Regions from separate parts of the Homo sapiens genome. Here all the other regions are linked to region 2. Evidence: promoter capture Hi-C in 16 types of primary human blood cells and fetal thymus (Javierre and others, 2016). All regions are on one chromosome and are shown on one strand. The core of a region is centred on a gene start or on the middle of the fragment in contact, and the rest is flanking DNA. Distances in the headings are between cores, read along the strand shown. Region 1 overlaps UBR2 (ubiquitin protein ligase E3 component n-recognin 2). Region 2 holds the start of RPL7L1 (ribosomal protein L7 like 1). Region 3 overlaps UBR2 (ubiquitin protein ligase E3 component n-recognin 2). Region 4 overlaps UBR2 (ubiquitin protein ligase E3 component n-recognin 2). Region 5 overlaps PTK7 (protein tyrosine kinase 7 (inactive)).

Region 1 (5,747 bases), core at 1,435-3,934, 280 kb after region 2:
TTGTCTTGAACTCCTGGGGTCAAGTGATCTGCCCACCTCGACCTCCCATAGGGCTGGGATTACAGCATGAGTCACCGCGCCTGGCCTTAATTAAACTCTTAAATATAAATTAAATGGTAGAGTTTGGAAGGCTTTATTCTTTGTCTAGTTCCAGGAGTATACATTCTCCAGGCAGGATTGTATGACTTTTGGCTAGGCAGGGGAGCTTGCTGGTGTCTTCTTAAAATTCAGGAAATTAAGTAGAGCTTGGACTGTTGGATAGCCATCCCACTAATGTATGAGGATAAAGCCAACAGAGCAAATGTAGGCAGATTCAAAACTTTTCATTAGAAAATTATTTTAAGTCTACTCTAACACAGGGATAAAAAAGGTAACAGAAGTCCTAAAGTATCTTTTCCAAATAAATGACATGACATTTACAGAACATAAAATTAACCATTTTAAAGTGAACAACTCAGTGGTACTTGGTACATTTATTATAACGTGCAACTACTACAATCTAGTTCCAAAACATTTCCATCACTCCAAAGTAAAACCCCTTACCTACTAAGCCATTTCTCTCCATTTTCCTCTTCCCCAGCCCCTGGCAACTACCAATCTGTTTTTTCTCTCTACAGATTTACCTATTCTGAATATTTCATATAAAAGGAATCATACAATATGTGACCTTTTGAGTCTAGCGTCTTTCACTTAATATGTTTTAGAGGTTCATGCATGTTGTAGCATGTATCAGTTCTTCATTCCTTTTTATGGACGAAAAATATTCCATTGTATGTATATTATCACAATTTGTTTATCCATTCATTCACTGATGGACATTTGGGCTGTTTCTACCTTTTGACTATTGTGAACAACATTGCTACAACATGTGTGTGCATGTACTTGCTCAACTTCGGTTTTCAGTTCTTTTGGGTATATATCTAGGTGTGAAATATACGGTAATGTTTAATATTTTGAGGAACAGCCAAACTGTTTTCCACAGCACTGAATCATTTTATATTTCCACTAGCAATATACAAGGGTTCTAATTTCTCTATATCCTTGTCAATACTTGTTATTACTTTAATAGTCATCTTACTGAGGGTGAAGCAGTATCTCACTGTGGTTTTGATTTTGCATTTCCCTAATGACTAATGATGTTCAGCATCTTTTCATGTGTTTGTTGATTATTCATATATCTTCTCTGTAAAAATGTCTATTCAAGTCTTTTGCCCATTTTTAAATTGGGTTATCTTTTTACTTGCTGAGTTGTAAGATATAAACTCTGCATACTAGATCCTTTTTGGATACATGGCTTGGATATACACACATATACTTTCTCCTGCAGTCCTAAAGTTTTATACCAGTGGTTTTTAACCTTTTTCTAAAGCACAATTCTTTTTTTTCAAATATATCTTTATTTGTCCTGTATTTCTACATACAGAACCCCAATCAACTATATAAAAATGGAGCTTCTCCAATAGAAGTGGAAAAATCTGGAACCTTGACCACTTGGCATCTTACTGTAGCAAATTACAGAACCCTTTCACAAAGCAAATGAAAAACAAAACATGTTTTCCATAGCACTGAATCATTTTGTATAAATTTTGATTTGTACATCAAAAGCTTTGGTCATTCTGATAAAATATATTTGAGACCTGTAGGATATGGGTACCAGGAAGAACTTTTTTTTTTTTTTTTTTAAAGACAGGGTCATGATCTTGGCTTGCTGCAACCTCTGCCTCCTATGGCTCAAGCGGATCCCACTTCAGCACCCCCAACCCAAGTGGCTGGGACCACAGGCACGTGCCACAACACCCAACTAATTTTTGTATTTTTTGTAGGGATGGGGTTTTGCCATTTGCCCAGGCTGGTCTCAAACTCCTGGGTTAAAGTGATCCACCCGCCTTGGCTTCCCAAAGTATTGGTATTATAGGTATGAGCCACCTTGCCTGGCTGAGGAAGGACTATTGATGTCCACTTGCCCCAAATCTATATCAGGCCTACTAACAATGTAGACGTACTTGAGTGTACCTATTCCCCTGCCATTTAAAAATAAAATCTGAAAGAAGGATCTTGAACTATACAACAAATTGTCATAAAATGTAGCAGAAGAGGGACTGCCACAGGTTGGCTAACGGATACAAGAACAAAGCTAGATAGAAAGAATGAGTTCTAATGTTCTACAGCACTATAGCATGACTATAATTAACAATTTACTGTATATTTTCAAATAGCTAGAAGAGCGGATGGTGAAGGTTTCCAAAACCAAATAATGTTAAATGCTTGAGGTGATGGATATGTTAATTACCCTGATTTGCTCATTACACATTGTATATATGTATCAAAATATCACACTGTGCCCCATAAATATCACGCTGTACCCCATAAATATGTACAATTATTGTCAATTAAAAATAATAAAACATAATCTATTGTAGCATACCATTGAAAGATTTAATCATTGTATAATTACAGTTAAGTGAGTTATTAGAAATATATGGAAAGTTTTTGAAGTTTTAAAAAAAGCAGCAGAGATTTAAGCATTTATTTTGTGGGACTCTACTATTCCATTACAAATCCATTTAAGAAAAATAATGCAGGATCAACAATTTGAAAAACACAGTAAGCAGTGGGAATTATTTGTACTGAGCTATCATCACTACACATGGTCCCATCACATAACCAATGATAATGGAAACCAGGAGATGATGATTGGGATTGGCTGTCATGTATGGTAACAGAAAAGAAAGCTATCTGGCCCCAAAAGTCTTTGTTATAATAAAGATATACAAAACTCAACTTGGTTAACTGGTCTACACATATGGGAAAAATAATCCTCTCAACCATAGGTTAGTACTCAAATAAACTTCAAGTATGCTTAAAACAAAACCCCAACCAAATAAAAAATCAGAATTAAATGAAATTTCCCAAATTTCAACTGTGTACTATTAGCAACCGTACAGCATCCACAAAATGCAAAGAACTTTCAAAGTAAACTAGTCACTGTCAATAGTGGAAGTACTATTTGCTTATCCATTTCTCACATCATCTAATGACTATTTCTCAAAATATTTCAAACTTGGGTTAAAAACAACTTTGTGAAAATGTTTTTACCTCTTCTTCCTCAATTTCAGAGGTGTTAAGTTCATGTTTTTGACAGTAAGGACCCTCTTTCCAGGCTTCAGTATCACCACAGTCACAGAAACCTCCACCTCCTGATGTTGTCATCTTGGAAAAAAATTGTAAAGTATCTTGTCAATAAATATTTACTGAGGGCTATCAGATAATAAATAAGAATATCAAGTGCTAAGGAAATACCATTGCTTAAGTGTTTAATTTCTTTGGAGGCATAAAATTAGATAAAATGCCAAACCTCTCAATGTTTTAAAGTTTATTTTAAATAAGCCTATAAGCTAATCTAAGTGATTTCAAAATAAAATAAGCTACTTTGTAATGTTTGCCTACATGACTTCCTTAATTAGGAAAATCATGAGGATCACAAGGGTTTTCTTGCTGGGTTTTGGTTAAATTGGTATAATGCTGATATCTACGCTACAGGTTGTGATGCTATAAACACAATAGACTCAGGGGTTATACAGATTCCTCTAGTTGCTGTCTCCTAGAGTCTAAGGGTGCTGCATTTGCTTTGGAGAAATTAACCAACAAAGACTATAGAAATAGTTAATTTTTCTTCTCTAATACACCTTAAATAGCCACTCTTTGAAAGGACAAGTAATAGGGGCTCAGGAAATGCAAAAGTAGACTGCCTAATAAAAGCTTTTCACCACCTGCAATGTTCAGGAATTATTCATAATTCCTTAAGACAGGGCAATGATTTAAGAAATCTGGCATCACAGAACCAGAATTAATAATTGGTAGACTAGAAATTCTGCTTTTCTTAAAATAGTATGAGGAAGAGCTTACTAACAGGTATTAGATACAGCAAATTTTAGAATAAGCCCTATTATATTCTGCCCAAAGTAAGTATTTGTGTTATATATCACAATATAATTAATGTAACCCTATAAATGACAACTATTCCCAGGGAATGCAAAGATATATGCCAAGAAATGTGGGTAGGAGTCATTTGGAAAATGACACGTGCTTGTTTCAGTTACCAAACACAGGCAGAACAGCTTAAAGGAAACTGGGCCTCTTTTACTGATTTATGAGACTAATGAACAGACAAGAATATAAGTAGCCCAATTTTGTAGCTGGGTTTTTATTATTTTTATTTTTTATTTTGGGATGGAGTCTCGCTCTGTCGCCCAGGCTGGAGTGCAGTGGTGTGATCTCAGCTCACTGCAACCTCCGCCTCCCAGGTTTAAGTGATTCTCCTGCCTCAGCCTCCCGAGCAGCTGGGATTACAGACATGCGCCACCATGTCTGGCTAATTTTTGCATTTTTAGTAGAGATGGGGTTTCACCATTGTTAGCCAGGATGGTGTTGATCTCCTGACCTCGTGATCCGCCTGCCTTGGCCTCCCAAAGTGCTGGAATTACAGGCATTAGCCACTGCGCCCGGCCCCGTAGCTGTTTTAGTTCATTATTATGAACTCCTGGGTAGAGTAAATAAAAACAAACAGGAGGAAAAGTTCTGACCCAGATGGGCTCCTGAATTAAGAATAATATTAAAATATTCCTCTCTACCATTCTGTTTTATGATTAGGGTGAAAAGTTCCATCTAACAACCCTACCCTTTGAATCTCCATGGTCTGTCTTCAATTTCCAATAGAGGAACCAGGACAGGATTTGGAATAATCTGTATTTATCTGTGTCCCTGACTTAAAAGCAAACAAACATACCTGAATTTTGAAAAGTACTGACAGCATTACAGCAGTGAAAAAATACTAAACTGGTGGGTCGTAGGTGCTGGAGTTGGGTCCTCTCCTACATTGTAGTAGATGCCTCTTTAATAAACATTAAAAAATAGCAAAAACAAACTAGTTGAAAACCAATACAGAAGAGCTGATATCTCTATTATCTTTTTTAAATCATATGCTCCAAGAAGTGTGGATTCATAATTTGTTTCTACACTGGCACCCTATATCCAATGGTATTTAAATAAACACACTGTTTAAACCACCCTCCCCCCATTTTAGTGTTAAATCTTTGCATTTTGAAAAGAAAGAAAAGATATTTATTATAAAATGCAATACTGCGCATGGTTATTATTTGGACATTACTAACCCTATATCGATGATCTCTGTGAATACTTCCCAAAAAGCACTCCATGCACAAAACACAAGTTGGATCAACTGCACAGTCTCTGTAAAGTTAAAAAAAAAAAATCAAAGTGTCAGAAAATAACTATATATTTCACAACAGAATTATTTCAAATTGGAATCCATCCTAAAAGAATGAAAACGTGAAGTTTTTTGGTGTTTTAAAAAAGGAAGTATCATTCCCAAAGATCTGTCAGATCTTTGATCAATGAAAGCAGTTTAAGGACCTGCGTCTCCATAATGGATGTGTGCTAGGGAGTCTTTCAAGGCACATATTATTAGAACAGTAAATTTTAATGTAATGGTGTGTTTTCCCATAGATTTGTGGAAATCACATTACACATTAAAACACATAGATGTATATGAAATATACTCAAAATATTTATGAATTCTTAAGATTCATATATTGGAATTTCAAATAACTTCTTCCAAACAGGTATTTGAGACCAAGGGTCTTCAAAGTGATATGTATACATCCCTAGAAAGGCAGAAGTATCAACTGAAATGCAAGAAGACAATATTTGAACTTACATTTCTACTT
Region 2 (5,957 bases), core at 3,309-5,808:
TATGAGCAGTGGTAGAGGGCTACAAAGGACAGAGCTCATAAACATGCAAAATCCACAGGTTTCTGGTTTGGGTGATTGGGTAGGGGAAACAGCAAGAAGTAGAGTTGTACATGGGGTGGGCAGGGGGTTGGGAAAGTTCCACTAAATGAGGAAAAATGTCTCCCCTTCACTGAATATGCTTCATCCACTCAGCCTTGTTTCAGTTCCTAGAATGATGCCTTGCTTTCCCTACCTCAGGACTTCAGCACGTATGCCTGAAAAATCTCCCAACACTGGTGAACGCCTTTCACATCTTTCAGGTCTCAGGTTGAAGTTCCTGCTTTAGAGAGGGTGTCCTCAACCCCTCTCCCTAGTGAGCACTTTACCCTCATAGCACTTATTTTCAAGCCTATCTGTCTAAGGTCTTCCAAATATTGCAGACTAAATTGTGCTCAACCCTGACATCCTAGCACAATTTGCCTGAGTGGCTTGGGGCATATTATCTCCCTAGAAAGGGGTCTAAAGCTTAAGCAACACTTTGCCCCAGCCTCATGCAATTAGAAAGACACCAGTTCCTTACCTTTCGATGCGTACAACAAAGGCCAAGGAATGTTTATCTGGCAATTCCAAGGCATGAGGTTTCACTTCTAGTCGTCTGAGACGCACCTTGTCACGTTTCTGCCGCCAGGAATCATGTAGGAATGATTCCAGTCGCTTAAACCTGAGCCCTTTTCCTTTCTTCTGCTACAGAGAAGACAGACCATCATCATCATCTTGTGCCTCCATACATTTTTACTTTTAGAACAGTAATTCATAAGTGACAACTGATATAGCTTATTTCCCCGTGTTCCACAATGCGAAGCAAAGCAACATTCTCTATTTTCATATAAAGGAAAAATGAGAAACCAAAGTAAAGGTGGAGTTGAGGAAACTTGGGAATTATTGGGAAAAATAACGAACAAAAAATTAGTTTACATATTAATCAGTGTTTACTAACAAGTTTCCTTAAACTCCACGCCAGCATTTGCCTGCAGGTGTTAAATATTTGCTAAATGAAGACATAAACCATATACACTTGGTGCTCTGCATCTGTGATTCAACCAACCCCAGATGGAAAATACTTTGGAGGAGCACATACAGTAGCTCACCCTGTAGTCCCAGCTACTTAGGAGGCTGAGGCGGGAGGTTCTCTTGAACCCAGGAATTCAAGGCTGCAATGAGCTATGATCCTGCCACTGCACTCTAGCCTGGGTAACACAAGACCTCACTCCTTGTTCTTTTTTTTTTCTGAGATGGGGTCTCGCTCTGTCGCCCAGGCTGGAGTGCAGTGATATGATCTCGGCTCACTGCAACCTCTGCCACCTGAGTTCAAGCCATTTTCCTGCCTCAGCCTCCCAAGTAGCTGGGATTACAGGCATGCGCCACCACACCCGGCTAATTTTTGTATTTTTAGTAGAGACAGGGTCACCTTGTTGGCCAGCTTGGTCTCAAACTCCTGACTTCAGGAGATCCACCTGCCTCAGCCTCCCAAAGTGCTGGGATAACAGGCATGAGCTACCACACCTGGCCAAAGACCCCACTTATTTTTTTTTTTTTTTTTTTGAGACAGGGTTTTGCTCTGTCACTCAGGCTGGAGTGCAGTGGCACAATCTCAGCTCACTGCAACCTCCGCCTCTCGGGTTCAAGCAATTCTCCTGCCTCAGCCCCCTGATTAGCTAGGATTACAGGCGCATGCCACAGTGCCCGTCTAATTTTTTGTATTTTTAGTAGAGATGGGGTTTCACCATGTTGGCCAGGCTGGTCTTGAACTCCTGACCTCAAGTAATCTGCCCGCCTCAGCCTCCCAAAGTGTTGGGATTACAGATGTGAGCCCAGCTGACCTCACTCTTAAAAAAAAAAAAAAAAAAAAATTCAGGGGAAAAAATGAAAAATAACCGTAAAAAGTAATACAAATTTTTAAAATACATTATGTACACTGTATTAGCTATCAGTAATCCAGGCCAGGCAGGGTGGCTCAGGCCTGTAATCCCAGCACTTTGGAAGGCCGGTGGGTGATCACTTGAGGCCGGGAGTTTGAGACCAGCATGGCCAACATGTCAAAACATCTCTACTAAAAATACAAAAATCAGCCGGTGGCCGGGTGGGGTGGCTGACATCAGTAATCGCAGCACTTTGGGAGGCCGAGGTGGGCAGATCACTTGAGTCCATGAGTTGGACACCAGCCTGGCCAACATGGTGAAACCCGGTCTCTACTAAAAATACAAAAATTAGCAGGGCATGGTGGCACATCCTTGTAATCCCAGCTACTTGGGAGGCTGAGGCAGGAGAATCGCTTGAACCCGGGAGGCGGCGGAGGTTGTGGTAAGCCAAGATCGCATCACTGCACTCCAGCCTGGGTGACAGAGTGAGTCTCTGTCTCAAAAAACAAAACAAAATTAAATTAAGTTAAAAAAAAAATTAGCCAGGTGTGGTGGCGCATGCTTGTAATCCTAGCTACTTGGTTGGCTGAGGCACGAGAATTGCTTGAGCCCAGTAGGCAGAGGTTGCAGTGAGTCGAGATTGTGCCACTGCACTCCACTCTAGGCAAGAGTGAGACTCTTGCCTCAAAATAAATAAATAAATAAATAAAGCTATTAAGCAATCCAGAGAGGATTTAAACTACATAGGCGGAAGGAGTATAGATTATATGCAAATACTACAACCAGTTATTTATTTATTTATTTATTTTTTGAGAGAGTGTCTCGCTCTGTCGCCCAGGCTGGAGTACAGTGGCACGAACTTGGCTCACTGCAACCTCCACCTCCCGAGTTCACGCCATTCTCCTGCCTCGGCCTCCCGAGTAGCTGGGACTACAGGAGCCTGCCACCATGCCCGGCTAATTTTTTATATTTTTAGTAGAGACGGGGTTTCACCGTGTTAGCCAGGATGGTCTCGATCTCCTGACCTCGTGATACGCCCGCCTCGGCCTCCCAAAGTGCAGGGATTACAGGCGTGAGCCACCGCGCCCGGCCTACTACAACCATTTTATATAAGGGACTTCAGCAGTCTGAGATTTAGGCATCTGTGGGAGTCCTGGAACCAACCCCTTAAGGACACTGAGAGACAACTATACCTGGTCTGTCAAACCGTTGGGGGGAGCTCGTCAATACCAAATGTAGTCCAACACATGCGGGATAAAACTCACCAAATAAAAATTCTAATTACTTTCTCTTGGTTCCCCACCATTACCTCCTTCTTTGCCAAAAGTGCCTGCTTTGCCTGGGTGGCTTTGAGGGCTTGATAAGCCTTCCTCTTTTTCAGGAGATTTTCTGGAACCAAAGGGATTTTTCTTTGCCTGATGCAGAAAATTGAGATCAGAGATAACATTTAGAAAAGAACACTTGGCCGGGCTCGGTGGCTCAAGCCTGTAATCCCAGCACTCTGGGAGGCCGAGGTGGGTGGATTACCTGAGGTCAGGAGTTCGAGACCAGCCTGACCAACATGGTGAAACCCCCGTTTCTACTAAAAATAAAAAATCAGCTGGGCGTGGTGGCGCACGCCTGTAATCCCAGCTACTCGGGAGACTGAGGCAGGAGAATCGCTTGAACCCGGGAGGCGGAGGTTGCACCGAGCCGAGATCCCGACACTGCGCTCCAGCCTGGGGGACAGAGCAAGACTCCGTCTCAAAACAAAAACAACAACAAAAAAGAAAACGAACATTCAATGGATTTCCAAACCAATTCAATATCCTGGGCTTTAGGGAACATTACTGTTTTCAAGTATCTGAAGAAAGATTCCCCTGAAACCTGCGGTTTCTGACTCCAGGCCTCATAAATCCATCCCTAATAGTCACTCATCCCCAAAGCCTCGGAAAATAATGAATCCTTTAGCCTCTGGGTTCGTATAAGTTAACAGGGTTTTCACGGCCACAGTTCTTCATAGGCACTAGCAGCGACGAATCTATGGGGTTGGGGCGGGGGCAGGCCTATCTGCAGAGTTAACACTTGTCGGGCTGGGTGAATTCAACTGTGGCACTCCAGCCCGCTGCCTGAAGTCAATCCTCGCCTCTCCAGATAACCCGAACTTGACCGCGGTCCCCTCCCTCCTCCGCCACAGCGCTACTCCTCCTCACCCCCACCCTTTGTAAACTGTGGCCTTTTCTATTCCTAGAGCCCACAGGAATCCGCCACCAAGGCATAAACACCGTGGATGGCACCGGATACTCAAGACCCCACTCCAGATATTCAAAGCCCCAAACACTCACTCTTGCTCCGCCATCTTTCTAGTGGTGCAGCTACTGATCATGCGCAACCCCACCACATGGGGAAGACAGCACACGCTCTGTTTACTTGACCATAGAGACGTCTGTTCTAGCTCACGCTGGAGGACCAGTCAGCGTTCACTTAGCCGCAGTGAGCCCTTGAGGTCCCGCTAACCCCGATTCCTGCCAAAAGTTGCACCGCTTCTTAGGGTTTTTAGAGCCTGTGTTATTTTCAAAACCCAGCCCTTTTCTTGTAAGTTACAGTTTCATCACAAGCGGCCTGGCTGTGGACAGCAAAGTGCTTCCCACAATGCACCTATGGCGTCCGCTCCTAGCTACGGCGCCGCACTTCCGGCGCGGCTGTGCTGCGTCTCTGGGGAGGAAGACAGGCAAACTCCGCGAAACATTTTCGCTCTGTGGAAAAACTTGGAGGCTATGGCTTTGGCTCTCACGTGTAGGTGGAAGTGTTTGTTGAGGACTTAGAGTGGTAAAGCAGGTAGCTGCAATTCCGTCTGCTTGGCCCCGTCGATGCGTCCTTGAACACGTTATTTAACCCCTCTATACTGCGGCTTCATTACCCATAAAATGGGTGTACAGTAATAATAGGTCTACCTAATGGCGTTACGAGGATTACAGGAGATTAGATAAAGCGTTTAGCAGTGTCTGTCAGCACTATGTTTGTTACTATTACTGCTGGACCGAAAACTACAACATGCTTCCTTCCCGTCTAAAACCGTTACACAGGCCGGGCGCGGTGGCTCACGCCTGTAATCCCAGCACTTTGGGAGGGAGGCCGAGACGGGAGGATCACCTGAGGTCAGGAGTTCGAGATCAGCCTGGCCAACACGGCGAAACCCCGTCTTGGGCGGAGGTTACAGTGAGCCGAGATCGCGCCACTGCCCACCAGCCTGGGCGACAGAGCAAGACTCCGTCTCAAAAAAACAAAAAGAAAAGAAAAGAAAAAAAAAGAATAAAAATAAAACCCTTATGCAGCTCTCATCGCCCGGAATTTGCGTTCTTCCCTCCCAGTCTATATAGAATCCTGAAAAACAGTAGGTCGGGCCGGTGGCTTTCACCTGTAATCCCAGCACTTTGGGAGGCCAAGGCAGGTGGATCACTTGAGGTCAGGAGTTGGAGACCAGCATGGCTAAGATGGTGAAACCCCGTCTCTACTAAAAATACAAAAAATTAGCTGGGCGTGGTGGCTCGCGCCTGAAGTCCCAGAAGGCGGAGGCTGCGTGAGCCGAGTTTGTGCCACTTGCACTCCAGCCTGGGCGACAGAGCGAGACAGTCTCAAAAAAAACAAGAAATAAATTTTTTTTAAAATTAAAAATCCTGAAAAACAACACAAGTCTTATCATCTCTGGAAACCTCCAGAGCAGCGCTTCTCAAGCATTAATAGTGAATAGGAGTCACCTGAAGATTTTACTAAAATACAGATTTTTATTCAGGAGGCCGGGTGGGGAGCTGATATTCTGCTTTTTTTTTTTTTTTTTTTTTGAGATGGCGTCTCGCTCTGTCGCCCAGGCTGGAGTGCAGTGGCGCGATCTTGGCTCACTGCAAGCTCCGCCTCCCGGGTTCACGCCATTCTCCTGCCTCAGCCTCCCGAGTAGCTGGGACTACAGGCGCCCGCCACCACGCCTGGCTAATTTTTTGAATTTTTAGTAGAGATTTCACCTTGTTAGCCAGGATGGTCTCGATCTCCTGACCTCGTGATCCGCCCGCCTCGGCCTCCCAA
Region 3 (6,018 bases), core at 1,099-3,598, 310 kb after region 2:
CCAAGGCAGGTGGATCATCTGAGGTCAGGAGTTTGAGACCAGCCTGGCCAACATGGTGAAACCCCGTCTCTATTAAAAATACAAAAATTAACTGGGCATGGTCATGGGCTAAGCCTGTAATCCCAGCCAGTTGGGAGGCTGAGGCAGAAGGATCACTTGAACCTGGCAGGTGGAGGTTGCAGTGAGCCGAGATCGCGCCACTGCACTCCAGCCTGGGTGACAGGGCAAGACTCCATCTCAGAAAAAAAAAAAAAAAGGAAAATTTCTGAAATGATATATGGGAAAATGTTAACAATGATTAATTCTGGAAAATTGGACAGTCAAAAAGGGGACAAGGCACTTTATTCTCCATCTTCTACCCTTGTATACTCAATTTTCACCAAGAAATTTAAAAAAGAAAAGTCTTCCTAACAGCAGTAAATGCATACAGCACCCAGATCTTGGTTTCTAACTACCATTCCCAAATGAAAGAAAAATCTTTAAAGAAATAGCTGATTGTACATACGGGTCAGAGCAAGTACAAAGTGAGCTGGGGCATCTTGTGCCAGAAAGGAAAGAAGCACCCACAAACTAATGAAGGCATGTGAAAAAGACAAGATGGTGTGACGGGGCTCTCACTAGCCAAATCTATGGCAATTTGAACATCAGAATTACTGTAACTAAAAAATATCAAGAAAAGCAAGAAAGTGATTATTGCAAGAGTCAAGATGTCAGTTAATTATGGGGGAAGGAAGAAAGCACACAGTGGGCTTCAAGAATGCTGGTGACAATTTTTTTTGATCAAGAATAATTACAAAAATGTTTGCTTTAATTATTTATTAAATAGCATGTATTTGTAATACAGATTTTTAAGCAGATATGGTATTTCATAATTTTTAAACAAAAACTCAAAAGTTCCAGGGAAAAAAAGAGGTCAAATAAAACAAGAGCCTCCTAGAAAGAAAATTAAAATATTTTACCTGCAAGAATATGTAGGCTCTCCTACTTTAAAAACACGACCACAAAGATGAGAAGGTTTGTTTGCTTGCTCAAGTTTTGGAAATCCAAATGCAGGATCTTCACCACAAAGGTACCATTCCATTGGTCCCAACAAAACATGCTGTGCCAGCATGTCTTCTTTCTGTGGAAAAGGGTTGGGACCCCTGCAGTAGATTTTGGGTACATAGTGGGCTAAATGCTGGTACACTTCTCTAGTGAGGTCAGTTGCTTGCAGCCATTTCTTTAAAAGAAGAAAAGAGAAGAAATGGTTTTAAACACCAACAAACTAATTTGAACAAATTCACCCTACTTTCTTTTAGGTACAAAAATAATGACAAAAGCATATTAAAATATTTTGTTTACAACACTCACCACCGTACGTTAGAAATTTAATCTATTAAAATGCCAAGTATGTTTAAATCCTACTTTTAAGTGTAAGTAAAATTAAAATGAAACAAGCCTCCCTCCTTCCCTGCAAAATGACTCTTGAAGCAATCTTCTCTAGGCAGTACCAGAAAATAATTACAAGAAATCATTATATAAGATATGAACCATTGAGCTCACCTAATGTCCTTCCTAATGCTTTGCTCAAATGTTATTCTCATTGTGATATCAATTCTCACGTCAGTTTGTCCATAGGAAGAGTGTACGGTGAATATGAACAGCCAATATGTACGGTGAACATGAACAGCCAATACACATTTCTTAATGATTGATAAGCAAGTTTATATACCAGTCTCTTATTGAATAAGTCAGTCCACAAGAGACTGTTGTACCAATTATGCCTTCTTTCTCTGATCAACTTCTCTCTCTCTATAAGGCCTTTTCCGTTTGCTCTCCCCACTAAAAACAAATTTTAAAGCATGATTCTACTTAGATCTCATAGGTACCAACTCAATAACTGAATGCATGATCTCCCCTCCATGCTCCACCAAAATCTGTTATTTTCTCCATTTCCAGCTCAACCTGGGTATCCACACCGAAAAATCTGAAAAGCTTCCCAGCACTTTGGGAGGCCAGGCCAAGCAGATCACCTGAGGTCAGGAGTTCAAGACCAGCCTGGCCAACATGGTGAAGTCTCTTCTCTACTAAAAATATAAAAATTAGCTGGATGTGGTGGCGCATGCCTGTAATCACAGTTACTCAAGAGGCTGAGGCAGGAGAAATCGCTTAAACCCAGGAGGCAGAGGTTGTAGTGAGCCAAGATCCAGCCTGGGCGACAGAGCAAGAGTCTGTCTCAAAGGACAAAAAAAAAAAAAGACTCACTTCTGCTAGAATGCAGTTAACTGAACCGTGAACAAAACCCACAGATGGAGGGAAAGAGGAAGGGGAAGTGAGTTGAAAAACTACCTATTGGGTACTATGCTCACTACCCAGGTGCAATATACTCATGTAACAAACCTGCACATGTATTCCTTAAATCTAAAGTAAAAGCTGAAATTAAAAAAAACCTCCAATGTTTACCTATGGATTACTACCTAATTCCAGTTACATTTTTATTTAAAAAAAAAAAAAAAGTATGTTCAAGTGATATGTAACATCATAAGAAGTCAACATAAGGTCTTCATTTTAGCTATTACTTGTATATTCTTCAGACCACTCCTTCTAAAAACAACATACAGAGAGATTTTAAATATGCATGAGGTGATGTATATTAACTTTCTAGTCAATTTCTGTTTTCAGAGAACTTTTACTAAAAATGTAAAAATTTTGTTCATAAGTTAAGGGACTGGATAGAAGCTTATAACCAAAAACGGTGAAAGAGTTTTCATGCTTAAAGTGAAACTAAACTATTTTCCAAATATTACTAACATTGTTGTGTTTACATTATGCAAGTAGGAAAGAGACTAAATTACTTTCAAAACAACAGCATTTCTTCCCTGGTGGCCAAGTGGTTAGGGAAAAAAAAATAAAAATAAAAATAAAACAGCAGCAGCAGCATCATTTCTTAGGAGACAATCCTACAGGCTTTAAGTATTCTCTCCCTTCAGAGTGACTCAATCAAAATTTTATATATACATACACATCCTTTAAGCTCAGTAATTATAAAGAGGACAAGTTTTAAAAAAAGAAAAAGAGTCCTCAACAAGCATACTAGAATCTTATTCTTTGAGCTAAAAGACCTCGTTTTGGCCTCATTCAAAGGTAAATGTCTCATTTTTCACCCATTGTCAGCAAACCAAAACAAGAATGAAGGTAGTCAAATGATCCTAAGCGCTTTTTTTTTTTTTTTTTTTTGAGTCTCGTGCTGTCGCCCAGGCTGGAGTGCAGTGGTACGATCTCGGCTCACTGCAACCTCTGCCTCCCAGGTTCAAGTGATTCTCCTGCCTCAGCCTCCTGAGTAGCTGGGGTTACAGGTGTGCACCACCACACGCGGCTAATTTTTGTATTTTTAGTAGAGACAAGGTTTCACTATGTTGACCAGGCTTGTCTCAAACTCCTGACATCAGGTGATCTGCCCACCTCGGCCTCCCAAAGGTGCTAGGATTCAATTTACTCTTTATGAAAGAAAAATTAAGCAATAAGACCAAAATAATTCACCTCCATGATCCTAGAAAGTTAAGTGCTTCGGACTTTTTTTTACAACATATTGAAAGATTTTATTTAAAAACCAGTTTTTTTCCTTATATTTTATGTTCCCATTCCTGTAAAACTTCACTGTTGCAAAATTTTAATACAAGAATGAAAGGTTACTTTAGAAGGGATGCTTTTTTTTTTTTTTTTTTTTTTTTGAGACGGAGTCTTGCTCTGTCACCCAGGCTGGAGTGCAGTGGCGCGATCTCGGCTCACTGAAAGCTCCGCCTCCCAGGTTCACGCCATTCTCCTGCCTCAGCCTCCCAAGTAGCTGGGACTACAGGCTAGCATGGATGCTTTCTAAAAAAAAATTATGCAGTCTAGTAACTGTAACGAGAGCAAATTTGTTCATAGATTTCTTCAACAAAAATTCAGACGCTAGTATCAGCTTCTGGTTAAGAAAAAAAAAAAAAATCGGCCAGGCTCTTTGGCTCATGCCTGTAATCCCAGCACTTGGGAGGCCAAGGCGGGTGGCTCATTTGAGTTCAGAGGTTCGAGTCTAGCTTGGGCAATATGGCAAAACCCTGTCTCTTCTAAAAATAAAAGAAGATTAGCTGGGCATGGTGGTGCATGCCTGTAGTCCCAGCTACTCAGGAGGCTGAGGTGGGAGGATCACCTGAGCCCCGGAGGTTGAGGCTTCAGTGAGGCATGATCACGCCACTGCACTTCAGCCTGGGTGACAGAGTGAGATCCTGTCTCAAAAAACAAACAAACAACAAAAAAAAAACTAGCCACTTTACATAAAAATATTATTAGTAAAACAAGCAAGTATTTCACTCTTTATTACATATTATTATAAATAACAAGACTTAAAAGTCTGGTCCAAGAAAGGCATGCATATGCTCCCCATTTTTCAAATCTTTACTACTCCTGGGCACAGTGGCTCACGCCTATAATCCCAGCACTTTGGGAGGCCAAGGTGGGCAGATCACTTGAGGCCAGGAGTTCGAGACCACCATGGCCAACATGGTGAAACCCCATCTCTACTAAAAATACAAAAATTAGCCAGGAGTGGTGGTGCACGCCTGTAATCCCAGCTACTTGGGAGGCTGAGGCAAAAGAATCGCTTGACCTCAGGAGGTGGAGGTTGCAGTGAGCCTAGATCACGCCACTGTACTCCAGCCTGGAGGACAGAGTGAGACTCCGTCTCAAAACCAAAAACTTTACTACCATTATATGAAAAAATCACAATCACCTAAAAGATTTGGGCTCTATTACAGGCACTTTAAGCTGATTAAACATACATACTTAATATAAAAAGCAAGAAAAATTTATGACTGTCTTTCAGAAGTAGCTCACACATTTCCCCAAAGAATAAAATCTATAGCTTTTCATATTAGTTCTAACATATGCTAACTGCAACTGTTTCTTCAACATGAAAAATTAAGATTTCCAGTTTGGTTGGCCTTTTGTCTTTATTTCAGACACTTGTAGCTGTCACACCCATGTGGCATAAGAGAGTAATAAGCATTCACTATCTTACTACAAGTCCCTCTTAAGGGAAGTAAAGAAACTGTCAACTCATTCCTCTAAAGTAAACATGTTATGACAATGTTTCCAGGAGCTTTCCCTCTATTAAATACTAAATTTAAGCCTTGGGATAGAAAGCAAGTACAATAAAATAAAAATGAAATGAAAAATGAAAGAATCCCTAGAGGTTAGTTAGCCTTTTATTACAGTCTCTATTATTCTATACCCAATTAAAATTGTATCCTTTAACTACTTTTGGTTTTGCTTTCAAACAAGGATAAGCAACATGTAAGTTAATCATAAAACAACTAGTGCTCATAACCATAAAAACAATAGTGTTTAAGTGGGAGTTTTAGGGAATATATTGAGAAAAATTTTAAACAAATTATATTAAGAGCTCTACAAATTAAGGAGAATATTTACAAATAAAATATAGAAATTTAATAGGTCAAAAGACTAATTGAAAATAGGCAAAGAAGACATAAAAATGGCCAATAAGCTCATAAAAAGATGTTCCAACATGACTCATGAGGGAAATGCAAATCAAAACCACAATGAGAAGGCATAACACCCAAAAGAATGGCTGTAATCAAAACACAGGCAAAAACAAGTGTTGGCAAGGATCTGGAGAAATTGGAACTCTCATGCACTACTGGTGGGAATGTAAAACAATGCAACTGCTTTGGAAAAATCTGGCAGTTCTTCAAAATAGTTAACATATGACCCACCAATTTCACTTCTAGGTATGTATATACCCAAGAGAAACAAAAGCATATGTCCCCACAAAAATTTGTAAAAAATGTTCACAGCAACATGATTCATAATACCCAAAAAGTAGAAACAACCCAAATATTCACCAACTGATGAACAGATAAATAATATATGGTTTATCTATACAAAGGAATGTCATTTGGCAATAAAAAAGAAAGAATTACTGACACAGGTTGAGCATCCCTAATTTGAAAACGTGAAATCCAAAATGATCCAAAATCTGAA
Region 4 (5,923 bases), core at 2,816-5,315, 260 kb after region 2:
TTAATTGAATAACTATGTAGGGGGAAAAATCAAGACCTTACTTCTTAGATACACAAAAATGAATTATAGATGGATTGGGAATTTAAATGGGAAAGGCAGCTTTTAGAAAACGTGGGAGAATATCTTTGTGACCTTGGGATACACAAAGATTGTTTAAACAATATACAAAAAGTACGGCCGGGTGCGGTGGATCACCTGAGGTCAGAAGTTTGAGACCAGTCTGTCCAACATAGTGAAACCCCGTCTCTACTAAAAATACAAACAAACAAACAAACAAACAAAATAGCCAGGTATGGTCACACACGCCTGTAGCCCCAGCTACTCAGGAGGCCGAGGAAGGAGAATCGCTTGAACCCGGGAGGCAGAGGTTGCAGTGAGTGGAGATCACGCCACTGCACTACAGCCTGGGTGACAGAGCGAGACTCCGTCTAAAAAACAAACAAACAAACAAAATTAGTACATGTTATAATTATGAATTCTGGCTCATTAAGAGACACCTGGCTGGGTGCAGTGGCTCATGCCCGTAATCCCAGCACTTTGAGAGGCTGAGGCAGGCGGATCACTTGAGGCTAGGAGTTTGAGACCAGCCTGGCCAACATAGTGAAACCCCATCTCTATTATAAATACAAAAACTTAGCTGGGCACGCATGTAGTCCCAGCTACTCAGGAGGCTGAGGTTGCACTGACCCGAGATCATGCCACTGCACTCCAGCCTGGGGGACAGTGAGACTCTGTCTTAAAAAAAAACAAAAACAAAAACAAAAAAAAAAAACAACACTTAATATTCAGGAAGTAAACAAGAGTGGAAAAAATATTTGTAGTATATATACCCAACAAAGAATATGTATGCAGAATCTATGAAAAACTCTGACAAATCAGTAAGAAAAAGGCAGACAACTCAATAGATAATCAAAGGACAACTTTAACAGGGATTCACAAAGGAGTATATCCAAATGCCAATAAACATATAAAAAGGAATTCAGCTTCATCATCATCAGAAGAATGCAAATTAAAACCATAATGAGAAACCACTATGTCCCACTAGAATAGATAAAATCTTAAAAGACTGGTAAAACCAAGTGTTGGTGAGGATGTGGAGCAACTATCACTTTCATACGTTATTAACAGAAGCATGAATTGGTTTAACCATTATGGAAAAGAGTCTGGTAGAACCTATTTAATCTGAATACATACATATCCAGATAGACCAGACAGATATAAGATGGACATATAAAAATCAGTAGTTTTCCTAAATACTACCATAGCCTGTTTAAAAATATAAAAAGTTTACTACAGCATCAAAAATATAAAAAGTTTACTACAGCATCAAAAATATAAACCATATAAGCTTAATTTAAAAATGTTAAGACTAGCTGGGTGTGGTGGCATGCATCTGTGGTCCCAGCTACTTGGGAGGCTGAGACAGGAGGATTGCCTAAGCCCAGGTGGTCAAAGCTGCAGTGAGCTGTGATCGTGCCACCTCACTCCAGCCTGAGTGACAGAGCAAGAACTTTTTTTTTTTGGATACCGAATCTCGCTCTGTCGCCCAGGCTGGAGTGCAATGGCTTGATCTCAGCTCACTGCAACCTCCGCCTCTTGGGTTCAAGTGATTCTTCTGCCTCAGCCTCAGGCGTGCGCCACCACGCCTGGCTAATTTTTCTATTTTTAGTAGAGATGGGGTTTCACCATGTTGGCCAGGCTGGTCTCAGACTCCTAAGCTCAGGTGATCCACCTGCCTTGGCTAGGATTACAGAGGTGAGCCACTGCGCCCAGCAGAGATAGAGAACTAAAAAAAAAAAATATATATATATATATATATATATATATATATATATATATATGTTCATAACGAGAGAACTATGAAGTTTTTACTAAGAACATAAAATAACATTTGAATAAACAAGGACAAATTATATTCCTAGTTGGGATATTCAATATTGCAAAGATGTTAGTGCTTCCTAAATTAATCTACAAATATAAGGTCTTTTCAGTCAAAATTCTAATGTGGTTTTTGGTAACTGACAATCTGATTTTACTTCATCTTTTTGAAAAAGGCCTAAGAATAAGCGAAAACATTTTGGAAAATAATAATGAAAGGAGATTTAAGCTATCAAATGAAATGGGATTTAAGATGTCAAAATGGGATATTAAGCTATAAATAATTATTACAACTGTGGTACTGGCATGGAAATGGTTCAATGAAGGAGGGAAGCACAGATATGAATACACACAGGATCATCTCAGAGGCTTCTGGAACTCAACCCTGACTAAACTAAAAGCATCACTTTCCCTCTTTACAAATGCTAATCATTCAGCAAGTGGCACAGCATCTACTCAGCTGCAAGCCAGATGCTTGCGAATCATCCTTATGCTTCTTCAAACCCGACATCCAGTTCGTCAGCAAGTCCAACAACCCTCAAACCCACTTGGCCGGTTCTGTAGATTTCACCACCTAAAAATATCCCCCATGATTCATATCCACTTTCAGCATCCCAGTTCGAGTTACCATCAATTTTTCCCTGGGTCATTGCTTTAGCATCTGATTAGGTTTCCCACACTCACTTTTATCCTCGTCCAATTTGTTCTCCAAATTACAGACAGCATGATCTTTTAAAATCACAAATGTAATTATGTAAATACCACTTAAAATTCTTTAATGCCTTCTCATGTTTTTAAGACAAAATGCAAAAATCCTTAATTTGGCCTATCATACTAGCTCATTAATGGGTAAACAGACTCCAGTCAGCTTCCACTGTATTAGAATATATCCTTTAACATAAAAGTAATATGGTGAAAAATTCAGTTATTTTTAATATGCCTTATTAATAAAGTAACTATAAAATGCTCTTAAACCTATACAATTTCACTCCAGGTTCAAGGATCTTCAAGTGTCCTGGTTTTCCTCTATTTGCCAAGAGGTAATGCTCCACCCTACTCCTCCAGGTTTTCTCAACTGCTCATTCCTTTGTATGGACCTTCCCTCATGCCCTTGCATAAAGGCACCTTTCTTAGAAAAGCCCTGAAGTGTGGGAAAAGGACAGGTCTCTTGTTATTTTCTCTCAAACCAACGGAATTTTCATTGTGATTCTGATTATTTATGTGAGTCTTTCCCACTATGGTAAGTTTGATGAGGGAAGGGTCACATTTGTTATTGTTTACTGTTACATTCTCAAAGTCTAGAACTGTGCCCAATAAATAGGTGTTTCTTAAATTTGCTGAACAAATTAAATATGAATTTTAATTATGTATATAGCGTTAAAACATAACGATGCCTTTATGGGCAACTCGTGAAGCTCAGTAAAAGACCATCCAATCATCAGGATTCAATTGCCTTAGCTACATCTCCCCTTTTGGGAGGGAGGTGGGAGGAGGACTTCTCAAATTGTGAGACGGTGTACAATATGCTGTCTAATTCTAACGTGAAGGATAATTTGTGAAATCAATCGGCTTAATGTGAACTAATCAGTTCAAAATCTCAGGGAAGTACTATGAAAAATTGTAGATTGTTTCCCTCTCCTTTACTCTGAAGAGAAAGTATAAATTAAGTTTAAATGACTTCCCCCCTACCAGATGACTTTGATATTCAAGGTTATATTCTAGTAAAAGAATAGTGAAGGTGTTTGAAGTCTGATTACCCATTAATAAAATACTATTCTTTTCAGGAATATACAGACTTTAGTTCTCTATTATTTTAAGGCCTCTGTTAATGGAAAACAAGAAAGTTCTTCTAGTCTTTCAGTACTTACAAGTGAAGGAACCGTGAATATCTGAACCGAGAGGTCTGCGACTGAAAACTCTCTGTCGTGGTCATCTGTCACATAATCACTCTGCAAACGCTCATAGTTCTATTAAGAAGGCAAAAAAAGGCAAGGAGTGCCAGCTATCAGTTACAAAGAAAAGGCAAGCACTACTCACCAGAGTAGGTGCGGTGAAGAACTGGACAGATAGAGCAGTCACCGACACTGCTCGCTCGTGATCATCCTCCATAAAATCTCTCTGCAACTGCTGGTAATTCTAAACAACAAGGGGGAGATTCACCTCTAATCCACAATGACCAAATGTTTAAGGATTATAATGAAAAGTCAGTGCTGGAGGAAGTCAAGAAGATAACACTGCTATGAGAACAATAACTGGAATGATTTCTACCAATAGAATCCTGTATAGATATTGATTCACTATGGAAACTGTGGAATCCTGTATAAATATCGATTCTTTCTTCTGGAGCACAATGGCAGTTTACCAGCCCAAATAGGCAGTAACAGCTACTAAGCTCCCAAGATGTCATTGTATGCTGGTGGAGCTAAACCACAGCAGCATTACACTGTTTCTGATGAAATCAGACTTTCATTACTTCTGCATCATATCAGAATCATCTGATGACTCTTCCAAAGCATACATGCTTGGGCCGCCATTCTTGGTGAATCTGTTTCAGTAGATTTGAGAATGGAACACAACACATGTATTTTGAAAGAGCTCTCCAAGTGATTCTCATATACTTCGTAATTCAGGTGAATGCAAAAAAATAAGTGGTTAGCTTATGCACATGCTGCTAAAAGGGAGAACTTAACTATATTAATAACCTAGAGTTCTGAAGAGACCTTGTTTCTTAAAAAAAAAAAAAGCAAAATACATGTTTTCCTTAGCATGAAATATTTGCAATCTATTTATAAAATCAAAGTTTTCTAAATATAATTTTCTAACAAAATATACAGGCTATTTAATTTGGATCATGCCCCCCCTCCAAAAAAAAATCTATTTTTTTTTAAAGACTAAGACTGCAATGCTAATTTTAAAATGCACAAATATATTTATTAAATCATATTCATATATATGTCATTTAAACTGAGATTAGTTTCCTTATATGAATTTTAATAGAAAAAAATACCATAATTCACAATGGCATAGGTTTAAACTCTTCATTTATTATTTCATAAACATTGTATAATAGATACTCATGTTATAGGAGGTGATGAACAAGGAGTCTCACGGCTAAAATTTTATTCTATTGATAAAGAATGAAAAGATTATTTATGAAGTTTCTTAGAATTTAATATCAACACATTGACATATTACTATTAGATGTTAATTTTTTGAAGCCTAGATATAATTATGGGCATAGTTACTCTATATATAACCTATTTTCAAAATTGAAAAGCCACTTACTTTTGCAAATCGAACAGCAAATAGTTTCTTGTATTTCAAATCCATAAGCAGACTGCTCATGAACAACTGATGATATACACTCCTAGCACCTTGTAGAAAAAGATCACGGTATAAGATAAGGACACGCCCAACAATTACATTTCTCAAGTGTTATGTGATCCACAGTGGGTTTTTTTTGTTTTGTTTTGTTTTTACTTTTGAGACAGTGTCTTGCTGTGTTGCCCAGGCTGGTCTTAACTCCTGGGCTCACGCGATCCTCCTGCCTTGGCCTCCCACAGTGCTGGCATTACAAATGTGAACCACCATGCCCAGCCAACACAGCATTTTTTTTTTTTTTTAGGGTCTTGCTTTGTTGCCCAGGCTGAACTCAAACTCCTAGCTCAAGTGATCCTCTTGCCTCAGCCTCCTGTGTAGCTGAGACTACAGGCACACACCACTGAGACTGGCTTGTATTTTAAGTCTCAAAAACAAAGAAAGCCATACATGGTGGTATGTACATGTAGTCCCAGCTACTAGGGAGGCTGAGAAGGGAGGATTGCTTGAGTCCAAGAGTTGGAGGCTGCAGTGATCAATGATCATGCCACTGCACTCCTGTTGCCTGGGCAACAGAGTGAGATCCTGTCCCTTCAAAAAAGGAGCAAAATACATATTTTCCTTAGCACAAAATATTTGCAATTTGTTTATAAAACCAAGTTTTCTAAACATAATTCTGTAACAAAATATAAAGTCCATTTAAGTTGGATCATGGACCCCACCCCAC
Region 5 (5,573 bases), core at 744-3,243, 270 kb before region 2:
CCTTGACTCCCCTGACTCTTGAAGCCATCCCCTTTCTGCCATTCAACTACATCCTGTCCTTGTGAACTAAACTCAAATGGTTTTCTCTACTAGGAAGACTTCTTTGTTAACCACAACCATCTGTCCACCTACAGGACATGGGTGTCTTCAACATCTCTTAATGCCTCCCACTTGCTTTCTGTTTTACCTCAAGTCTGTAAGGCACAGGTCATACTCATGTACCTAATCTCCTCACTAGATCATAAGTGCCCCAAGGGCAAGATGCCTGTCCTTTCCCCCCCTCCCCTCCCTTTGAGACAGGATCGTGCTCTGTTGCCCAGGCTGGAGTGCAGTGGTGTAATCATGGCTCACCGCAGCCTCGACCTCCTGGGCTCCAATGATTCTTCCTCCTCAGCCTCACAAGTAGCTGGGACTACAGGCATGCCCCCACGCCCGGTTAACTTTTTTTTATTTTTTGTAGAGACAGGGTCTTACTATGTTGCCCAGGCTGGTCTCAAACTCCTGAGCTGAAGCAATCCTCCTGCCTTAGCCTCCCACCGCACCTAGCTGATGCCTGTCTGTTTTAATTTTGCATTCCCAAGGGCCCCTGGGGCCACACCTGGCTCAGTGAGGAGTCACTGGCTCTGTGAGTGTCCTAATTTGTGAGCTCTTTAGTCCTGAAATCTCACTTAGCTGGTGTAGCAAGTCCCATCCTGTGGCTTCTCCTCTACAGCCACTATACACAGTTCCTGCAGTTTCATGGGGAAGGAGGTAGGGGTGTGGTGTCAGGTGGCCAGGTCACTTGTCCTGTCTGGGTCTTAGTAAATTCACATGTAATAAGAGGGGGCCAGCCTGAAGGGCACAGAGCTGCTTCCCCAGAGAGATTGGGGGCAGCCAGGGTCCCATTCACCTGATTCATCTGCCAGCCATGCCTTTCTGCTCTGCCTCCAGAGTCTGTGACCTGGGACAGCCTAGCAGGCAAGGAATGGTCCCCTGGGAGAAAGGGCAGAGCCTTCTGCCTACCCTGCCCTGAGCTCTGATTTGGTTTATGAGGTCACTTCACTGCCAGCTTGGAAGCAGACTCTCCAGTCACATGGAAGGAAGTAGATCCATTTCAGAGGGGAGAGGAGGCAGCTGTGGGCAAGAAGAACCTGAGGGAAGGAAGAAGGGGCCGGGCCACAGCAAGCCCCAGGCACTGGAAAGGTATGGACTGAGGTGGCAGGGGGTAGCAGGCAAGCTTTCCCTTCTTCACTGTTTCAACCAAGGTCTGCTCTACCACAGGGGCCCCAGCCAGGGCTCTGTGCCCAGAACAACCTCTGCGCAAAAGGCAGGAGGAAAACTGGAATGAAAGGCTGGGCAGCTACAGCCCAAGGGAGAGGACAAGATGCAAACCACAGAGGGGGAAACCCAGGCAGCCCATTCACAGAAGAGTCTTCTCCACTCAGAGCTGAAGAAACACGCTCAGGCCCACAGCTAGCCCAGCAGGCCCCTGCACTAGGACTGCTTGCTGCTTCTCCAGCTCAGAGCTCATTGCAGGTGGGCAGGCGTCCTGCTCCAATGCAAGCTCCTGCCCAGAGGCAAGGTCCGAGGGTAGCTCTTCTCCGTGAAGCCAGCATGGCAATGCAAAGCCACTTCCAGGCTACATGACCTGGGACAGGTCAGACAACCTCCTAAGCCTCAATGTCTTCATCCACAAAATGGGGATAGTAGTATATATTTCAGACGACTACCGTGATAATTACAGTAACACATGTGAAGTTCTTACCATAGGGCCTGGCCCATAGAGAGCCCTCAATAAATGGTGCCTCTGTTGCTCCTGGCCCACCCCTGGGCACCCTCTCCCTCCCTCCTTCACTCCCTGTCCTCACCTTCTGCTTGGTGCTGAGGGGCTGTGACTTCAATTTTTCATCCTTGCTCTTGGAAATCCTCAGGAACTGCTTGAGGTCTCCCTAAGGGAAAAGCCAGGCATCTCGCTCAGGTCAGTGCACAGCCATTGGCTGTAAAGCCTCAGACCAAGCAGGTGCTCGCAGAATTCCTGCCTGGGGAGGCAGTGAGAAGGCCTAAGCTAGCCTGGGCCCCTTTCCCAGGGGGAAGTTCACTGGGAGTGCAGAACTTTAAAAATATATAGGAGACGCCTCCTAGAGGCTGTCTCAGTTAGAAAGGAGGAGAATTGGCATTTCTACCCCAAGGGGAACCTCCAGACAGGTGGGGCAACAGAGCCCCCATCTTCAGTGAGCCAAGAGGAAAACAGTCCCCTACCCTCTGCCCTCAAAGATTCCTGAGAGGAAACCCCTGTCCTCCAGAGCTTTACAATCTAATCTAAACAAACAAAGGAGAACGCCAGCAGCAGAAACATACATAAAGCATTCATAAGTACTTGTTTGTTTGTTTTTAATTTTTTTGTAGAGACAGAGTCTTGCTATGTTGCCCAGGCTGGTCTCGGACTCCTGGCCTCAGGCGATCCTCCTGCCTCAGTCTCCCAAAGTGCTGGGATTACAAGTGTGAGCCACTGTGCCCAGCCGCGTAAGTACTTGTTAATGGAAAGACTGATAGGACTCCTGCCCGCTCTTGCCCCAGAACTAGGGATTTGAGAAGCAGCAGTTTGAGGACCATGGGGTGAGGGCAAGGACCAGCTGGGGAATGAAGAGGAAGGCGCAGCTCTGGGAATGACACCCTGAGTGGAGAGGAGAAGGCTGGTGGCTGGGGTAACACTCATGTCACAAGTGGTGCTAGGAAGGAGGGAGGCAAAGTGGGTTCTGATATATTTATTCTCAAGTGGGGACAAGCTTTTGGGGAGGAAAAAATAACAAACCAAAGAAAACAAGAGTCAGAGAAGATGACCTGGAAGGCATCCCTGCAGTGTGACAGTGAGAAGTCCCAGAAAAACTTAGGACCAACGCCCCTGAGATACAGATGGAAAGACTGGGTGCTGATAAAGGGAAAGCAGGCATCCAAGAGCAGGGAAGGCAGAAGCTGAGCATCATAAGGTGGGCAAAGTGTAACAGCAGGCAGGTGAGGTCTCGGCTGAGACTGCACGAGACAAGGTTTTCACGGTGCTCCAACCACTGACTCCCACCTTTGTAGGACACTGCCCTCCCTACCCGAGACCCCCACGTCCCCTGCCAACAGCATACCAGATCCACATATTCCAGCACCATGTAGTGGGGCTCAGCCTCCCGGCACAGCCCCAGGAGCCGCACCACGTTGGCGTGGTTCAGCTTCCCAAACATCTCCAACTCCCTCCGGAAGTCCAGCTGCTGCTGCTCATCCTTGCTCTGCAGGCTCTTCACAAGTACCAGGGTCTCTGCCACTCCCTCCTCCAAGCCCTGAGCCTTTGCCAGGAACACCTCCCCAAACTCACTCTTCCCTGTGGGTACAGTCTGAGTCAGCCAGCCACCTTCACCCAGGCCGAGGCAGCTCCTGACCTGGGGGAGGGGCCTAGCCTCTCCCACAGTGGGGACCCACCCACCTGGGCTGGGCACGAGACCCGGTTCTGCTGTGACCCCCTCCCTCCTTAGGCTTCAGTGTCTGCAGCAACAAAATAAAAGGGTGGGACTAATATTCAGCATTTTCCAAAGGGTGACTCGCATGAGAATTTTTGGTGGCTCATGGTAAACATGTCTTAACGTATGCTAGGAAAAAACGTAACTATGACAAACCCATGATTTCTCATATTTTTTCCTAGAACAATGGTAACTTAGTTTTTTTTTTTAAAGAGTCAATTTAAATAAAACATCAAGTAAATAATACTACAGGTAGTACACAGGAATGACAAAATCTGCACGAAGGGCAGTGAATAACAGGCTCTGGGGCCACACTGGGCTAGATCTCTACCTATGCTTCCCTCCACCTCTAACATTCTAGGTTTCAGGGACTTCAGAACACTAGCCCGTACCCAGCCTCAAGACACAGCGGGTGACTTGTAGTTAGGCAGGGGCAGCTGTAGTCAAGGCAACATACCCAGCGTGGTGATGGGCTGCAGGCTAGACCGTGGGAAGTGCATCTTATCACTTGTGCTGTGGCGTTTGTTGGTGGCCGCGGGGCCGGAGCCCAAGCTGGTCAAGGCCACTTCTTCTTGGATCTCTGCTGAGGGCTGCCCGTTCTGCAAAGGCCCACCTGGGAAGGAGGAGGACAAGAGCGTCACGATGAGACCTGACACTCTGGCCACCATGGGGATTTCTGTTCTGTCCCCTGGTCTTCCACTCTTGCCAACTTGGGTCCAATCACAGTGCTCCACATGAAAGGGCAAGCCCAAATGATGAAATAATGGGGCTGGGGCTGGGTGGGGGATGTATGGCTATCCCCTAGGGTATGACCCCTTAGTGATGCAGCTGATTATGACCTCTGAGATGAAGCCAACTGCAGACATCTAATCTGAATCACTGGTCCTTAATACCATAGCTACACATAAGGATTTTTGCTTTCATGGGGCCTCCTATTGGGCAAAGCCCTAAACAGGCACAAAGGGAAAATCACAATAATGGAGACCCAACCTCTGCTCCTGAACACCTGAGCTGATAGGAGAGACCCAGCAATGACCTCAAGGAGCTCCCAGTCCAGGAAGTGGGGATAGGAGAAGGGAAGTAAACAGAAAGACTGCCCCTGGGGGAGCTCTTAGACTCATAGAGGGAGACAAGACATGCAACAGCAACGTGTGTACATATACTAATGATATCTGTGGTTTTGTGCTGGGAGGAGGAAACAGCAGGGAATCATAGGAAGCTGGTCCAAGGGGCTCCAATGAAGAAGTCTCAAGCCAGGTTGCTCAGAAGACGAGGCCCTGGGAATCCAACTCCAGGCTTCCCGCTAGGGGTGGGGCAGTCCCAGCTCCAGGACCCAGCAACAGCCGCTCGGTTTCCAGAGTGCTGGCGCTCTCCCCTCCGTGGCCGCGGGAGGGCGCTCAGCTCCCGCACACGGGCACCACCTCCCCGTCCAGGGCCCCTCACCGTTGAGGCATTCCATCTCTGGCTCCTCGCCCTCGGGCTGCTTCTGCAGCCGCTTGGCTTTGCAGCGCTTCTTGCAGTAGAACATGAGGCCCAGCACGGCAATGATGTAGGCCACAGCGGCACCCACCGACAACCCAATGGTCTGGATCATCTTGTAGGGGGGAGGGCTGCCAGGGCCCTCCGACTCCTCCGGCACAGGCTTGTCTGAGAGACACACAGATGGGTCTGGGCAGGGGCTGCTAAGCAAAAGAAGCCCTGCTTCTCTACTAACTCCTCCCAACCCCATCAACAGGGCAACTTAACAGATGGCCCGGGAGGGTCACCACCTTCACTGGCTTTAACAAGGGCCAGCAGGTCCTCATGCCCCACCAAGGTCAAACGAAGACTCTGAAGGAGATGAGGCCAGGGGTTCCCAAGCTGGCTTTGCATCGGAAGCCAAGACAGGCGACACGGATAAGCACACCTGTCAAGGAGCTACCACAAACCCACGTTATTTGTTAAGCTTCCCAAGTGACTTGATAATGTGAGCCAGGCCCCGGAGAGCAGCATTTGGGAGCTTCAGGTTTAGAATTCCAGGCACTGCCTGGCACAGAGCAGGTTTTTCAATAAGCAGATCTGTAGAAGGGATCTGCTGGTCTAGGGGCCTTT

What was found. The method cuts DNA at HindIII sites, captures the fragments that hold promoters and counts their contacts. A CHiCAGO score of 5 or more calls a contact.
Region 1: a contact is called between a fragment that was not itself captured here and the fragment with the promoter of RPL7L1 in region 2, in 2 of 17 cell types (M0 macrophages and total CD8 T cells). The highest score is 6.0, in M0 macrophages.
Region 3: a contact is called between a fragment that was not itself captured here and the fragment with the promoter of RPL7L1 in region 2, in 1 of 17 cell types (megakaryocytes). The highest score is 5.5, in megakaryocytes.
Region 4: a fragment that was not itself captured here is called in contact with the fragment with the promoter of RPL7L1 in region 2 in 4 of 17 cell types (M2 macrophages, M0 macrophages, megakaryocytes and 1 more); the score reaches 8.6 in M2 macrophages.
Region 5: a fragment that was not itself captured here is called in contact with the fragment with the promoter of RPL7L1 in region 2 in 1 of 17 cell types (naive CD8 T cells); the score reaches 5.7 in naive CD8 T cells.

What each region holds. Positions count from the first base shown.
Region 1 is chr6:42,591,654-42,597,400 of GRCh38, reverse strand. UBR2 (ubiquitin protein ligase E3 component n-recognin 2) reads right to left here. Exons shown (of 47, transcript NM_001363705.2): 3 at 5,172-5,250; 4 at 3,097-3,210. Among named protein-coding and RNA genes, the nearest start is that of UBR2, 30 kb to the right of the region's middle. The HindIII fragment of the contact is 2,154 bases long and covers 1,608-3,761 here.
Region 2 is chr6:42,878,217-42,884,173 of GRCh38, reverse strand. It overlaps RPL7L1 (ribosomal protein L7 like 1), which reads right to left and starts at 4,558. Exons shown (of 6, transcript NM_001366481.3): 1 at 4,223-4,558; 2 at 3,208-3,313; 3 at 560-723. The coding sequence starts at 4,263. RefSeq lists enhancers at 4,297-4,356, 3,632-4,588, 4,377-4,846, 4,589-5,546. The HindIII fragment of the contact is 10,267 bases long and covers 507-5,957 here.
Region 3 is chr6:42,568,935-42,574,952 of GRCh38, reverse strand. It overlaps UBR2 (ubiquitin protein ligase E3 component n-recognin 2), which reads right to left. Exons shown (of 47, transcript NM_001363705.2): 2 at 960-1,219. Among named protein-coding and RNA genes, the nearest start is that of UBR2, 7.9 kb to the right of the region's middle. RefSeq lists enhancers at 1,994-2,043, 2,134-2,193. The HindIII fragment of the contact is 744 bases long and covers 1,977-2,720 here.
Region 4 is chr6:42,615,331-42,621,253 of GRCh38, reverse strand. It overlaps UBR2 (ubiquitin protein ligase E3 component n-recognin 2), which reads right to left. Exons shown (of 47, transcript NM_001363705.2): 10 at 5,164-5,252; 11 at 3,747-3,845. Among named protein-coding and RNA genes, the nearest start is that of UBR2, 54 kb to the right of the region's middle. The HindIII fragment of the contact is 5,430 bases long and covers 1,351-5,923 here.
Region 5 is chr6:43,142,973-43,148,545 of GRCh38, reverse strand. It overlaps PTK7 (protein tyrosine kinase 7 (inactive)), which reads right to left. Exons shown (of 20, transcript NM_002821.5): 14 at 4,926-5,129; 15 at 3,940-4,095; 16 at 3,114-3,346; 17 at 1,848-1,928. Among named protein-coding and RNA genes, the nearest start is that of SRF, 26 kb to the left of the region's middle. RefSeq lists an enhancer at 5,031-5,120. The HindIII fragment of the contact is 1,549 bases long and covers 1,219-2,767 here.